2 separate regions of the Homo sapiens genome follow, and region 1 is linked to region 2. Evidence: promoter capture Hi-C in human tissues and cell types (Jung and others, 2019). All regions are on one chromosome and are shown on one strand. Each heading gives the region's core, a stretch centred on a gene start or on the middle of the fragment in contact. The rest is flanking DNA. Distances are from core to core; before and after follow the strand shown. Region 1 overlaps TDP1 (tyrosyl-DNA phosphodiesterase 1). Region 2 holds the start of TTC7B (tetratricopeptide repeat domain 7B).

What was found. Contacts are between HindIII fragments. The study calls those that stand out against the background at their distance.
Region 1: a fragment that was not itself captured here is called in contact with the fragment with the promoter of TTC7B in region 2 in 1 of the 25 tissues and cell types used here (dorsolateral prefrontal cortex).

The regions. Positions count from the first base shown.
Region 1 is chr14:89,980,174-89,983,659 of GRCh38, forward strand. It overlaps TDP1 (tyrosyl-DNA phosphodiesterase 1), which reads left to right. Exons shown (of 17, transcript NM_018319.4): 8 at 367-459. Among named protein-coding and RNA genes, the nearest start is that of TDP1, 26 kb to the left of the region's middle. The HindIII fragment of the contact is 3,146 bases long and covers 358-3,486 here.
Region 2 is chr14:90,814,518-90,818,325 of GRCh38, forward strand. It overlaps TTC7B (tetratricopeptide repeat domain 7B), which reads right to left and starts at 1,913. Exons shown (of 20, transcript NM_001010854.2): 1 at 1,658-1,913. The coding sequence starts at 1,778. RefSeq lists a silencer at 1,907-2,086. The HindIII fragment of the contact is 18,929 bases long and covers 1-3,808 here.

The sequences.
Region 1 (3,486 bases), core at 681-3,180, 830 kb before region 2:
AGGTTGTTGACCATACTTTGAATCTCAAACACCAGACCAGAAGGTTCCAACGGTCCCTAGTAGTAACAGGTAATGCTGAATAGATAATAAGGGGCCAGGCTGGAGGGATGTGAAGTGCCAGGACTGGCACTAGGGTTGAAAGTTCTTTTACCACCAAATACTCAACCTTTCTGAAAGGTTTTCATCCTATCACTTAGGCAGACTTTCATCATGGTAATGTATAGAAGGGAAGATTATAAATGTTAAGTTTGGGTAATATGAGAGTTTAAAAAAATTCCTTTAGCTATGTATTACATTTGCATTGGAAAGGTATTACATATTTTGAAAGTACTATTAATGCTTTTTGATCCTTTGCTGTTTTTAAAGGAAAATGATGCTGCTGCTCTATGAAGAAGGCCTCCGGGTTGTCATACACACCTCCAACCTCATCCATGCTGACTGGCACCAGAAAACTCAAGGGTTCGTAGGGGCCTGCTCACTTCCTGGCAGTGTGTGTGTTGATAAAGGTCAAAAGCCAGAACATTCACTTTATTCTTTTTTCTATTTTTTTTTTAAGTTGTAAAAATAACACACATGGCCTAGAAAAAGAGTTGTATGCAGAAAAAGTTACTGTATTCTTTTACTACCTGCCCCATTCTACCTTCTTGGGGTAACCAGTGTTAACAGGAGCATCATCATCCACAGCTACCTCTGCTGTACATGTAAACATACATTACTATTTACACACAGTAGTCTCTTCCTAGTTTTTAGAGAAGTGGCATCATATACACTCTACAGCTAAGTAGAGGGCACAGCACATGCAGAGATCTGAGGCAGAAAAGGGGTTACAGAATGAAAGATCTGAACCTATTGTTTTCCTAGTAGGATTTACCAGATAGCTTTTGTGATTTCTCCTTACTCATGTACCCACCTGTATTTTTGCTTACCACTTCCCAAACAGGAATCAAAGGAAAAGTTGGGGTAGGGCCTGGTCATGTTAATAGTGTGCTAAATATTTCCCCACTCCCCCAGTTGGTGTATTTTCTTTGAAACAAATTTAAGCTGGTGTCTTTTTAGAGCCTTTAGTGTGTTAATAAAGTTGTGAATCTCCAAGAGAAGAACTGAATACGAAAGCTTTTATGAACTTTTTAAACTACTAACCCTCTGTACTTGGTGCACATATGCTAGATCCAGGTTTTGATCCCCTTTTCAAGAGGGGTTTGCTTTTTAAAAGGGAGCTTTAGGGATTTGCTCAACAAGTTCAGCTATTGTTCTTGATTATGACTAACTTTAATTTTCTTTTGTTTAAGCCATTTTGTACATCTCTGCCTGTGCTAGAGAAGAGCTGGTTAACAAACAGCCTTCTGTGTTGGGAGAAACTCGGACGTTTGTCTAGCACCATTTCCAGGTTCACGTTTTCTCTGTCATCCTCCTCTGCCTCACCCTGCCCCATATCATTGCCTAGCTTGGGCTAGAACTCCTAATTTGGAGTGTATTACTTTCAGCTAAGCTCTGCTGAGCCCAGGTTACATCTTTGTTTTGTTTGTTTTTTTGAGACGGTCTCACTCTGTCACCCAGGTTACAATGCTGTGATGCGATCACGGCTCACTTTAACCTCAACCTCCTGGGCTCAGGTGATCCTCCCACCTCAGCCTTCTGGGTAACTGGGACTGCAGGCACGTACCACCACACTTGGCTAACTGTCTTTATTTTTTGTAGAGACAAGGTTTTGCCTAGTTGCCAAGTGATCCGCCTGCCTCAGCCTCCCAAAGTGCTGAGATTACAGGCATGAACCACCGTGCCTGGCCCCAAGTTACATCTTAGTTTGAGCTGAAATAGCTTTCCAGTTTCCTTCAACAGGTCTTGCTTCAACCTGAGTGCACTGCGCAGGACAAATGTAATCTCCCTCCCTTAAAGCAGTCCTTCAGAGTTTGAAAGGGAGTCTTGTTTCTGAGCCTTACATCTCTTGTTCCCTCCCCACTCCCTTGCCCCACCATAGCATGTGGCTTTGAGACCCCTAGCTGTAATTCCTGGTCGCTTTTCTATAAACATGTTATAATTTTTCAGTATCCCACTGAAAATATGCTTTTCAAAATGAAGTGTGGCTCTGACTGGTCCAGGGTTGAGGGGATAGCTGCTTGGTCTCTAAGTCTCAGCTGTAGCACTTTCTTGATCTACTGAATTTATGGTTAACTATGCCTTTGGTACCCCAAGAGCTTCTAAGCCAGTTCTCCTGAGCTGCCAGATTGGGTTTGGGGATTCATGTGGCCCTATCAAAAGGCAATGAGATTAATGTAGCTTGTTCTCATGAAACAATGTTACTAAAGGGATTTCTCAGGTTAGCTCTCAGCCTCACGTGGTTCCAAGAATCCCACCCTGGGCCTCCAGCTCCTTCTGAAGTTGGAAGCTTAGCTTACAGGCAGTAGTACTGTCTTGGGATTCTCTGGGGTGGTTGCCAGGAGGGAAGAGGCAGGGATAAGGGCTTGGGTGTTTCTTTTATTTAAAAAAAGTATTTTTTAATTTAAAATTTTGGAAAACTTATTGACTAGGTAGGAACGGTTCAAAACTCAGAAAGTACCAAGACTATGAAATCTTCCTCTGGCAGCCATCCTGGTGTGGGATCCTATTATTTCATGCTTGGCCTATATTCTACTCTCTAATGTTTTGCATTTCATGTTATTTGTGGTAATTTTAAAACTTTTGAAAGCAGTTTTTGTATACAATCTCACTTCATAATTGGTCTACTGTGGTTCTGCTAATCCCCTTCAGCTGCCTCATGATCCACCTGTTGATTTCTCACTTTTTAAAATTAGAACAAGAGTTGCATCCAAAGCTCACAGTAAAGAATAAAATAAAATTATTTGGCTCATTATAATAATTTTCTCATTTTGTGATGTGTTAAAAATGCCTCATATCTCAGCATCTTAGTTTAGAAAGTCATTTGTCTTGTTTCTCATCCAGAACTCACCTGTGAGTGAATCTCTGATCCAGGAGGAGCCTCACTCAGCCTGGGAACTTTGAGGTGCTATTGCAAGGGGAGGTCCTCCACGTCTGTCCAGCCCAACCTGGTCATTTTACACACGGAGGCAAAGGCCCAGAGAGATCACAGAGCTTACCCAAAATGGTATAGTCAGCTAGTCGATCTGGGTCCAGAACATGGGCTCCAGCCCTCATCACACCATGCTACCTCCTGTGCTAAGTGTCTCCCCAGGGTGGGAAGCAGGGGTATGAAATGCCCCTTGCTAGAAACTTGCAGAGTTGAGAAGATGTACGGCCGAGAGTCCTTGCAGTTCTGGATGCCTTCTGCCCTGGTGGCCTGCATCTTGCCAGTCTCCTTCAGGGGCTGCCAGGTGAAAGAGAAATTGGGCAGTTTCTCTTTCAGCTTAATAGATAGAACCCAGGGTGGGGAAAAGGAGAGTAGCCACAGAAGGGGAAAAAAGTAACACCTGATACTTTTGACTGCTCCTGTAAGTCATTGCTTTGCAACAGCCCAGTGAGGCAGCCTTG
Region 2 (3,808 bases), core at 663-3,162:
CGCAAATATTGGGTGAATGAATAAGCAAAGACAGCAGGAAACAAGTGGATTCAGAAGAAAAAAGACCAGGAGGCTCACAAATAAACCCATTTAATCCTAAAATCAACCTGCACAGAAGGTGTCATTATGCCTACACCGCTGGGAAGCCACAAAGTAGACCCAGGACTGTGCAACTCCGAGAGGAAAAGAGAAAATGCTGCAGGTAAGCGGAGAAGCAGGTGAGCCCGACACGGAGGGCAAAGGCAAGCTGCCTCTGGGGCCCAGGGCACTGAACACCATCTCCTCAAAGGCTGACATAACTGAGAAGGGTCCACATTTTCCACCAAGTGGAGCCCGTGTAGGGTCGGTGCTATCTCCATGCCCCTGACACACCATGGCACCTGCGTTCACCCAGAAGGTACCTGCCCACAGCATGCATCCATCATTGAGAGTGCGCAAAACCAAGTTCTAATTTCCAGGCACTAATACCATAGGACACAAACATAAACCACCCTCCAGGAGGACACCTGACATCCCTCTCCTTTCTGGGTAGTCTGAAGTGAGAAGGTTGAAAATAGTGCAGATGTCCTTTCTTAGAGCAGCCCCGCCATCCATTCATTCACTCTTTCATTCATTTGTTCAGCCAACATGTGCTCACTGGGCCTGGGGAAGCCCAGGATGAAATGAGACAAACCCTCTGCCCTCTGGCCACGGTGTGCTGGTGCCTGCGCTTTAGGCGGGTACTAAAAGACAAGCAAATATTAAAGATACTCGCTTCCAAAACAAATAAGGCCACGTGGAGCTGTGCACTGGAATGGGATTCTGGATGCAATTTTATTTGATTGGGTACAAGAACCAATCCAGTTAAAGGGGTCATGAACCAACTCCAGGCACCAGGCTCCTACTCAGAGGCTGCCTCAGACCCCCTTCTGGCCCAGGCACCAACCCCTCACCCACCCAACTCCATCTCCCGACATTCTTCAACCACATTCCCATCTCGCTCCACAATATTCTCCCTCCAGGTCCCCCTGACTCTATTTCTCCTCTATTCCCAACCCTGACCTCTCTAGGTCGGCAGCCTTGATGCTACTTCTCCGAACGCCAGGACGCACATCCCAGCCTGCTTTCTACCACCACCCCACACACCTCGAGTCTGCGCTTCCACCCAGAACCCCTTAAACACCATATGTTTACAAACCAGATTCCCCAGGGGTCTATGTACAACACCCCATTCTCAAGACCCCATAAACACATCCTGATTCCCTGAGCACACCATACACACACTGTGGACTTCACCCATGTCCTGAGGGACCCCCTCACCCCATCACCTCCAACTTCTTGGAAGCCCCAGGCCGGCCCCTGACCTCCTGTGGTCCCAGTGGAGCAGCGGACTCGCTGAGACCCCCGGACACCCCAGACTCCGCAGAAGCCCGCCCTGCACGCTTGAACCCCAGGCGCCGGGACAGCCCCTGGCGCCCCCCCGGGCCCCCACACCGCGTGACTCCGGGGCACCCGGGCTCCCCCAGGCCCCGGTCCCGCGCACATCCCCTGGGCCGCAGCTCCCTCGCGGCCCGGCCGCGCCCCTGCCCGCGCCCCGCGCCCGGCCGCGCCTCGGGGGCCCGTTCCCGCGGAGGCCGCGGCGCCCCCCGCAGCCCAGGCCGGCGCGCCCGGAGCGTACCGTTGGCGATGAGCTTGGCCGACAGCTGCTTGACGAGCTCAGGGATCCGCTCCCACTGGCACTCGGAGCGGCAGCGCTCGATCTCCGTCTCCAGCCGCGAGCCTGCCTTCTTGGTCGCCATCGCGGCCTGGCCGGGCCCGGCCGCCCGCCCCGCAGGCCCCACCGCCGCCGCCGCGGCGCCCCCTCGCCGCCTCCCGCCGCCGCCGCGGGCTCGGGCTCCGGCTCCCGGCTCCGCGGCGTAACGGGAGCGCCGGCTGGGGAAGGGGCGGGGAGGCGGGCGGCGGCGGCGGGCGCGGCGGGGCCCCGGGCGCCGCGAGGAGCGGCCCCTGCCGGCCAGGGCCGGAGCCGCAGCACTGACCGGGGCCGGAGCCAGGGCTGGGGCAGGGGCGGGGGCTAGGGCGGGAGACAGGGGCCCGAGGGAGGAAAGGCGGGGTGGGCATGGAGGACAGGGAGAGGGACTGGGGGTGTCTGGGGCGGGGTGAAGACCGAGGGGAAGTGGGGATGGGGGTGGGGGAGCGGGGTAGGAGAGAGATCTGACCAAGGGCGGGTGAGGGGTCTGGTGGGGTAGGGGTCTGGGCAGGATGAAGGGGAGGGAGAGGATCGGGAGGGAGCTAGCGACAGCCTGGGAGCGGGTTGGATCCCCAGGAGTAGGGCCAAGAAAGGGCAGTGACCCTGGGGAAGGTCACCGCCCGGTGGGACCAGTGAGCCAGGTGTGAGGGGTGGGGGGAGGCCTGCCCGAGTTTGTCCTGCCATCTCAGGTGGCCAGCGGTTCCCTGGGGCCCGGTTGGCCTGTGCCCCTTAGCAGATGCCCCTCTGCCCCGCAGCCTTAGCCCCTACCCAGCCAGAGGTGGACGGAGACTCCTCCATCCCAGGCAAGGCACAGCACCTGCCAGGGGTGCCCTAGATGGCTGAGCGGAGCCAGGCAGGGGCTGCCACTCTCACACGCCAGCTCTCGGACCCCCTGAGGGGAAGGCACAGTCACTGGTGGGGCCTCCTGTCTTGGCCACCTAGACTGAGACCTAGGGAGGTGTCCCTCTGTGTTCTCTCAGTGAATCAACTGTCTAGTGATCACCTACTATGTGCTGGGCGCTGCTTTAGGTGCCAGAGATAGAATTGTGAGCTAAAAAAACAAAATTCCTGGCTTGAGAGAGCTTACATTCCAGTTTGGGGGAAAAATAAGCAAAATAAAATAGTAAACTAGACTGTAAAAATGGCTATTTGAAGAAACAGGGAAGGGTTCAGTGAGGAACATAAAGAGTTGGGACAGGCGGGTGGCTCATGCCTGTAATCCCAGCTACTCAGGAGGCTGAGGCAGGATGATTGCTTGAGCCCAGAAGGTGGAGGCTGCAGTGAGCAGTGAACGCACTTCAGCCTGAGCAAGTGTTGCCATTTAAAATGGAGCAGTCAGGGATGGCCTCACGGAGGTGGCATTAGACTTGAAGAAACTAAGGGGGAGCCATGAGGATATCTCTGGGGGAGGAGTATCCCAGGCAGAGAACACCACAAGTGCGAAGGCTCTGGGGTTAGAGCACACTGGGTGGGATGGAGAAATGGCAGAGGCCAGAGGGGCTGGGTGGAGCGAAGGAGAGGGGCCGAGGCAGGAGATGAACTCTGAGAGGTTGGGGGGAGTTCTGTGTAGTGCCTGGTGGGCCATTATAAGACCTTGGCTTTTGGCTGGGCACGGTGGCTCACGCCTGTAATCCCAGCACTTTGGGAGGCCGAGGTGGGCGGATCACGAGGTCAGAAGATCGAGACCGTCCTAGCTAACATGGTGAAACCCGTCTCTACTAAAAATATTTTTAAAAATTAGCCGGGCGTGGTGGCAGGCGCCTGTAGTCCCAGCTGCTGGGGAGGCTGAGGCAGGAGAATGGTGTGAACCCGGGAGGCGGAGTTTGCAGTGAGCTGAGATGGCAGCACTGCACTCCAGCCTGGGCAACAGAGAGAGACTCCGTCTCAAAAAAAAAAAAAAAAACTTTGACTTTTACTCTGGTGACATGGAGCAGCCCTGCAGGGCTTTTCACGGAAGAGTGGCATGATCAGACCTACACTTTGGACTATCACTGTGACTGCAGTGTTGAGAATACTGCCAGGGAAATAGCTGTGGTGGTGGCAGTGTTGGATTCTGGGTCCTGCATTTGAGAGTGAAGCGGT